Regions from separate parts of the Homo sapiens genome. Here region 1 is linked to region 2. The links are contacts of gene promoters, found by promoter capture Hi-C in blood cells and fetal thymus (Javierre and others, 2016). All regions are on one chromosome and are shown on one strand. The core of a region is centred on a gene start or on the middle of the fragment in contact, and the rest is flanking DNA. Distances in the headings are between cores, read along the strand shown.

What was found. The method cuts DNA at HindIII sites, captures the fragments that hold promoters and counts their contacts. A CHiCAGO score of 5 or more calls a contact.
Region 1: the fragment with the promoter of ZCCHC7 here is called in contact with the fragment with the promoter of GRHPR in region 2 in 7 of 17 cell types (fetal thymus, total B cells, erythroblasts and 4 more); the score reaches 10.1 in fetal thymus.

The regions. Positions count from the first base shown.
Region 1 is chr9:37,118,867-37,122,983 of GRCh38, forward strand. ZCCHC7 (zinc finger CCHC-type containing 7) reads left to right here and starts at 1,708. Exons shown (of 9, transcript NM_032226.3): 1 at 1,708-1,757. LOC105376034 (a long non-coding RNA gene) reads right to left here and starts at 1,534. Exons shown (of 3, transcript NR_188580.1): 1 at 930-1,534. RefSeq lists an enhancer at 1,370-1,449. The HindIII fragment of the contact is 2,192 bases long and covers 1,174-3,365 here.
Region 2 is chr9:37,421,367-37,425,411 of GRCh38, forward strand. It overlaps GRHPR (glyoxylate and hydroxypyruvate reductase), which reads left to right and starts at 1,330. Exons shown (of 9, transcript NM_012203.2): 1 at 1,330-1,467; 2 at 3,479-3,609. The coding sequence starts at 1,385. RefSeq lists enhancers at 676-1,301, 1,302-1,927, 3,602-4,045 and a silencer at 1,142-1,291. The HindIII fragment of the contact is 7,938 bases long and covers 1-4,045 here.

The DNA.
Region 1 (4,117 bases), core at 458-2,957, 300 kb before region 2:
TCCCAAACAGGTGAGAGCTACCCCATTAGCCAGGCAGGCATTCAAACTTTATCAGGCCCAGAGGGACTTGAGTATGGTACTTCAGTTAGCACCATCCCATGTAGGTGGTGGTGGGGGTGGGGGTGGGGGGTAGGGGTGTGTGGCAATTGTTTAAAGGCATTTTGTTCTTTTCTTCCCAGTACCTGCATCACCCTTTATCTTCGTGTTCCTAAAATTTGTGATAGAAAGAACAATGTGTAGCCAATGGATAGCTTATGTTATTTTAGTGTCAATTCTTGGTATGTAGTTTAGCAAAAGCCTCTTCTTTTTTCCTTTAAAAATTCACTCGTGGCCGGGCGCGGTGGCTCACGCCTCTAATCCCAGCACTTTGGCAGGTCGAGGCCAGGAGTTCGAGACCAGCCTGGCCAACATGGTGAAACCCCGACTCTACTAAAAATACAAAAATTAGCTGGGCGTGGTGGCAGGCGCCTGTAATCCCAGCTACTTCGGAGGCTGAGGCAGGAGGATGGCTTGAATCTGGGAGGCGGAGGTTGCAGTGAGCCGAGACCGCGCCATTGCACTCCAGCCTGGGCAACAACTGCGAAACTCCGTCTCAGGAAAAAAAAAAAAAAAAAAAAAAAAAAAACCATAAAGAAAGAAAAAAATTCACTCGTAGCTGCTACAAGAAGTGTAATGGCTCATGCCTGTGATCCCAGTGCTTTGGGAGACAGAGGTGGGAGGATCGATACCTTTAAGCCTGGAGCTTCACAAGACAAAGAACTCAGTTGAAACTGCTGCTTATCGGATCACATATTAAGGGCAACTTGAATTGATGATCCCAGGTTGCCCTCATCAAACTTGGCCCAAATAAATTCTCCACTTATATTAACTTTGCCTCAGTTTTTCCTTTAGGTCGACAGTTATTTCTAAAGTTCTACAGATGGGTTTACCTTGTATTAAAATAAGGTGTGAGAAGGGCAAATGAAGCCAGAGGCTCCCAGCACAATCTTGCAACCTTCAGAGACTTCCAAAGGATCAGCATTAACTCCAATATTTAGCAGGAGTGCAGCTCTTCGAGATTCACAAAGTGTTAATCTGTTGCCTAGAATTCCAGAGAGTTGGAGGCGCCCAGTGTGAACTGTGTTCCGCCTAAAAGAAAAAGCGACCAGCCTAAGATCATGAGCGCAAGGGAGAAGCTTGAAGCCATGCGCTCTCAAGTACGCGTTTCCCGCTGCCCAGGTCTGCGGGCCAAGCAGCCAGCCACGCTGGCCCTCGTCATGCACGCGATCAGCTAGGCTCCCGCGCCACGTGGCACTGAGAAGGCGTCCACCGAGCGCCAGGGAGAAGGAGGCGGAGCCCGGCCTCAACCTCGCCCGTGTCCTCATGGGGGTTGTAGTTTTCCTCGCGGGGGTAGAGGGCACGAACTCCCCGGCTTTTGCCCGGTAAATAGCATCTCCTTCGTACGAGTCATTCAAATAATAGATGCAGCCTAGGTAGCTTCAAGAGAAGTTGGGAAGGGGAAGGGGGAAAGCAAGGAAGGCAAACCTAATAATTATGGGCGGGGCAGAGAACGGTTCGCACCCACTACGCATGCGCACATCAGGCGCGGCAGGTGGGCGGGGACGGAAAGGCGGTGACTAGAGCTGTGTTGTCCCCGGAAGTGCCTTCCCTCCCGGGTCTGCGCGGACGCGGCCTCCTTACCTCATTTGTCCTCGCCCCTCCCCGTCCCTCTACGCGTTTTGGTTCCCGGTTGGTGCTTCCTGTTCGCAGCTGCGGCAGTGAGTATGTGTGTGACGGACCCCCGCCGCCCGCGGCTCGGGACCCCTGCCTACCCTCCTTCTTGCCCGCCGGGCTGTGGAACTAGCGCGTGCCCCCTCGCCGGCCTCGACGTCTCCCGTCCGCCCCTCACTCGTGGCAGGGCGCAGCTCCTGGTCCGTCACCTGCGCGCCGCCCCACGCGGCCGGGCTGCGGGTCTAGGGGGTCCGCGTCTCCCTGGCTTTCCAAGGGCTAATGCCGTGATTCTAGAGCGGCTGGGCGTCTAGGGCCTCGGTGAGGGTGGCGTGTCTGCCCTTTTTATTTCCCCGCAAGGCCCCCAGTCTTCTAGGGAAGCCAGTCAGTGAAGCGCGGAGGTCCCGGCGCGCCGAGAGAGAGTCCAGTCTTTGAGGACCGAGTAGTCCTGGGCCACCTCCCGCCTCTGCTGTCAGAAGCAGCAGCTGCAGCAGTAGAATCCAAAATTTCGGGAGCTGTGACCCTTTCCTCATGTAAAACGAGTAGACTTGGACTGTGTTTACTAAGGCGCCCTTTATCCCTCCCATCCTGTGAGCGGACAGTTGCCTTCAACTTTTGGGAAGAGCTGCTGGTTCGGTGGAAAAGCTGTGGCTGGGAATCAGGAGGCCTGGGTTCTAGCCGTGGCTCCCCCACGGATTCGCTGGCGATTCCAGAAAGCTCTTATTGAAGCTGAATTTAAGATTATTTCAGATTGCACAGTTGAATTACGGGCTGCATTAGTAGGGCCTTTTTAGCTCAGTGAATAAGTTTCTCTGAGCTCCTTTCTCCAACTATAAAACGAGAGCGTTCAATTTGATGACTTTTCAGGTCCCCTCAGAAGCTCTTGACTTTGTGGTTTTCTTTTTCTTTTTAAAATTTTTTCTAGGACCGTTAGAGAAATGACTTCGTGTTTGAATAGTTAGGCTGTCGCATACAAAGACTTTTAAATGGATTGTGTGTATACTTAGGAAAGCGTTATGCTTTCAGGAGAATCTGAGCATGGGGAATAAAGTCAGGAAGGATCGCAAGTGAGGATTATATTAATATGATAATTAGCACGGTAAGAGACTGCATGACCGAAGGAAAAGGGCTAAGGGAAAGGTGAAGGAAATGTTTCCGGATAGGATTAGTTCTCGTAAAAATCATATATATATCCCAAGAAGAGCTGGGACTTAAGTGACTAAATTTAGCTTATTTTTTTTCCCCCACTGAAATACTGTGCTCTGTTTGTCTTTTGTGACTTTTGTTTTACACATTTGGATTCTCCATCCCAATCAGATTTGATTCAGAGTGGCCATCGCATTTGAAAAATGGACAGACATTTTAACCCTTTAGACAATTGTGTTTCAACTGTCCTGTCAGGGCAGCTTACTAAGAGTAAGAAAAATTTTACTTTGAAAGTAAAGTGTATTCATCACATTCCAATGAAAATTGGACTGAAAATGAGGCTGTGGATTTGATTTAAATCGGCCGGAGATGGATGCGTGTGTCATCAAGAAGGAACATCTAGGGAGGCTAAAGATATTTGGAAGTAAATAAGAGCAAAAGGTCAGAATGACCAGTAGGTAGACTGTGAGAGCAGAAGGATTGATTAAAGACTGTGTTAAGTAAATGCTGAAAGCTTAAATAAGCCTTAAGTTGTCTAGTTTAAAACAATTCAGTCAATGAATACTGCTCCCTCTTTTGAATGGTAATAGCCTTTGCAGTTATTCTATAGCTGTTTTATATTTGTTAAGGTATTTTAATTCTTAGATAAGTTTCATTTGCATGATATTTTAAGATGTTATATAGGAAACATCTTTTCTGGTCATGGGATTGATAGTTTTTGAGTACCAACTTGGGAGATTCTTAAATGGCAAACTGACAAACGTGTGTTTTCCTTACACCTAAAATGTCTCATTTAGTTTTTAAACTCTGCTGGGACATAAAATGGATATTTGTGAGGTAAATTTAGGTGTTAGAACCAATGCAAATATTGCAATGAAGGAAGGTTTTTCTTCAAAAAATCTTAATTTGAAGTTAACTTATTTGAAAATTTTATTTTGGGCCATGTGCGGTGGCTCACGCCTGTAATCCAGGCACTTTGGGAGTCCGAGTGGGGCGGATCACGAGGTCAGGAGTTCGAGACCAGCCTGGCCAACATGGTGAAACCCGTCTCTGCTAAGAATACAAAAATTACCCAGGCGTGGTGGCGCGTGCCTGTAATCCCAGCTACTTGGGAGGCGGAGGCAGGAGAATTTCTTGAACCCAGGAGGAGGAGGTTGCAGTGAGCCGAGATTGCGCCACTGCACTCTCACCTGGGGGACAGAACGAGACTCCGTCTCAAGGGGGAAAAAAAGAAATTTGTTTAAAAATTTTAGTAAACAGTTGG
Region 2 (4,045 bases), core at 80-2,579:
TTTTTTTGTTTTAGATGGAGTCTCACTCTGTCACCCAGGCTGGAGTGTAGTGATGGGATCTCGGCTCACTGCAACCTCCATCTCCTGGACTCATGAGCAATTCTCCTGCCTCAGCCTCCTGAGTAGCTGGAATTACAGGCATGTGCCACCATGCCCACCTAATGTTTGTATATTCAGTACAGACAGAGTTTCACCATGTTGGCCAGGCTGGTCTCAAACTTCTGACCTCAAGTGATCCGCCTGCCTCGGCCTCCGAAAGTGCTGGGATTACAGGCATGAGCCACCGCGCCCAGCCATACATTTAAAGGCCATTTTCTTTTCTATAAACTGTCCATTGATATCCTTTGCTTATTCAGATAAGCTGGGCATCTTTGTCTTAGGAACTATTTGTGCAATAAGTAAATCAACCCCTTGTCTATAAAATGAGTTGCAAATATATGGTATTTTTCCCGGTTTGTTGTCTTATGATTTTGTTAATTTTTTTTTTTTAAGATAAACATAAGCCTGGTATTTCCAGGCACCTGGTATTTCCAGGCAGTCTCCCATACAAGCCCTAACCAGGCTTAGTTTCCAAGATCAGATGCATTCAGGATGGTACGGTTAATTTTTCAATGGAGAATTAGTTGTACTCTTATGGCTTCTGGCTTTCGCACACATAGCGTATCACTTATTTATTGCTGCATAAAGAATTACTCCAAAATTGAACGGCTTAGAGCAACAGCAGTCAGTGCATTATCATCTCTTATGGTTCCGGGGTTGACTGGGCTCAGCCAGTGATTCTCCTAAAGGCTCTTTCTTGCAGTTTTAGCTGTAGTCAGGTGGGAGTTGGCCTGGAGTCACCCGAAGGCTTCCTCACTCATACCTCTGGTCATTGACGGTGGCTGTGAGCCGGGCCCCTGGCTGTGCTGTTGGCCTGAACACCTACACGTGACCTCTCTGTGTGTCCTGGACTTCCTCACAGCCTGGAACCTGGGTTTCTACCCTGGGCCAACCCAAGAGACAGAAAAAGTGGGGGCTTTCAGTCTCTTAAGGCCTGAGCCTGTGGAAACAGGACCCTGAGCGTGTAGAAAAAGCAGGGCTCCCATGAGGCCTTGGACGGGATACTGCCCCCTCTCCCCCGGGGCCCTGATTCCCCAGTGGCACGAGGCGCACCCCCCCACACACACACAAGGACACTGTGTAGGGTCACTGTTACTGTCACTCCCCGAGCACGCACAGTCACCGCTCAGCCGCAACCCGGCGCTCCCTCTCGCGAAGCCACACCCCCTGCGCACGCCGCGCGCGACGTCTCTCCCGCCCACTCCAGCCTGGCCCCGCCCCGGCCCAGCTACATTCCCGGGCCAGCTTCTGTACTGCCAGGTCCGGGTCGGCGGCTGCACTGCGGATGAGACCGGTGCGACTCATGAAGGTGTTCGTCACCCGCAGGATACCCGCCGAGGGTAGGGTCGCGCTCGCCCGGGCGGCAGAGTAAGAGCCTCGCGCGCCGTGGAGGAGGGAGCAGGGCGGTCCCAGGGACCGGAGAGCCGGGCGGGGCGTTTGGGCCTTGTGGCCGGCTGGGGCAGGCTTGGAGTTTTGGGGAGTCTCGGAGAAAGTTCTCTGGGGCCCAGTTCTCCTCTTAAGACGACGCTGGGACCTGCAGTTCCGGCTTTGGAGAGGGGAGATTGCCCCTGAGGCAAGGTCCAGGCTAATTCTCCACGCTCCCACAGGACATGTGGGGTCAGGGACATGGCGGTCACTGACCAGGCCCTTGGACGTTTGGCAGGGGGCTTTGATGACTCTTCTTCTTTATATTTACTTATCTTTTTTTTTTTTTTTTTGAGACAGTCTCACTCTGCTGCACAGGCTGGAGTGCAGTGGCTCGATCGATCGTGGCTTACTGCAGCCTCGACTTCTTGGGCCCAATCAGTTCTCCCACCTGAGCCTCCCGAGTAGCTGGGACTACAGGCGCAAACAATCACTACCGGCTAATTTTCTGATTTTTTTTTTGTAGAGATGGGGGTCTCACTCTGTTGCTCAGGCTGGTCTCAAATTCCTGGGCTCAAGCAATCCTCTTGCCTCAGCCTCCCAAAGTGTTGGGATTACAGGTGTTAGTCACCATGACTGGCCTGAGGACCCTTTAATTTTTAAGACAGGGTCTCACTCTCATCCAGGCTGGAGTGCAGTGGCACCATTATACCTCACTGCAGCCTCAACCTCCTGGACTCAAGAGATACTTCCACCTCAGCCTCCCAAGTAGCTGGGACTACTACAGGCATGCACTACCATGCCTGGCTAATTTTTTATTTTTTTCAAAGACGAGGGTCTCACTGTGTTGCCCAGGCTGGTCCTGAACTCCTGTACGAAGGGATCCTCCCACCTCAGCCTCCCAAAGTGCTGGGATTACAGGCATGAACCACTGCACCTGGCCCACCCTTGCTAAATGGAACCCTTTTTGTGGGCCAACCTTGCCAGGTGCTTCATATACATAAACTTTTAATCCTGGTAGCACTGTGAAGTCAGTATTATAATTCCCATTGCACAGATTAAAAACTGGAGGCTGGACTTAGGGTTAAGTTTCTTCCCAAAGCCATGCAGCTCCCAGGTGGAGGAGCTGGGGCTTGTACTCAGAAGTGTCTGACTGCTGTCTGATCACTGCATTTGATCAGGTTTGTGTTTCCAATGTTAGATAGGAAGAGGATGCAATCCAGCCTCAGCAGCCAGTTCTAGGGGCATATGAGATTTTCAAATTTTGTTCACTGCAACAAAACCTTTGCCAAGGACCCACTTTGTACTGAGCAGGAGAAGGTGGAAGGCAGCAACCGCGCCCATGGTAACAGTAGCTCACGCTGTACCCTGCTCATGGGGAGGTGGATGAAAGGTGGTCAGTGCCCTGGGCTCAGTCAGGAGGTGCAAGTAGCTATCCTGTGTCCTGCCACATAGAGGCTCCACACGTGCTGACTGTACTGAATTCCATGGCAAGGGCCAGGAGGCACCGTGCATCACTGGGACAAATATCTGGTTGCTGTGAGCTGCCGTGGAAGCGTTGGGTGGCCTTGACCTTATCTTTCCTGGCCCAGTCCAACTATGAGAGTTTTCTATTTCATGGACTCCACGGACAGGAAGAGATGCAACAGGCCATTGAATCCAGGCCCCCCACCTGAGGCACACCCTGCCCCCCACGGGCCTTCCCTGCAGTTGGCCGCCTGCTTGGCCGCCCAGCCCCTGTGAATGTGGGAAAGCTCTTCTCTGTGCTGACCTGAGAGCTGTCCCCATGCCTTCCCCCTTGCAGCTTAGGCTCTGCTGGGGGGCCCCTCAGCCCTTCACCTGTCACCTGCTGTCTCGGGACAGTTCTGAGACCACCCCTGCCTGACCCTGCCTCCCCTCAGCCAGCCCCGGGCAGCCTGAGGCCAGGGCCATCAGAGGCCAGGATTCCCAGCTGGGAGGGGCGGGGACAGGTGTGCGGCTCCTGCTTCTCCTGAGGGCCTCCCTTTCCCCGCAGCTGTGAGGTGGAGCAGTGGGACTCGGATGAGCCCATCCCTGCCAAGGAGCTAGAGCGAGGTGTGGCGGGGGCCCACGGCCTGCTCTGCCTCCTCTCCGACCACGTGGACAAGAGGATCCTGGATGCTGCAGGTGCACACTGGGTGGGCAGGGGACTTGAGGGTGGCTTGGCCCTGTGGGCCCCTCAGCCTGTGCTGCTGGCTCCTGGCTGCTCTGCAGTGCTGTCTGGGTTCTGAGGGCGTTTCCTGCGATACCAGGCCCGAGCGGGCAGATAGCTTGCTCTGGCACAGGCACTGCCCCTCCCTCCTGCTGTGAACCCCTTGGCGGGGGACCCTAGGAGGGCAAAGACCGCGGTGTGGAGACTGTGGGTGTGGGGAAGTGCATCCAAGGCCCTGGGTTCTCCAGCCCTGCCACAACCTTGCTCTGTGACCTCCAGCAAGACCCTGCCCCTTCTGGGCGTGTGCGTAGTATGAGGGAGGACCTAGCTCAGTGCCAAGCCCCAGCAGGATGTCTTTCCTCAACCGCAGCCACGGGTCTCAGCCCATGGAAGAATAAACCTCCCCCTGTG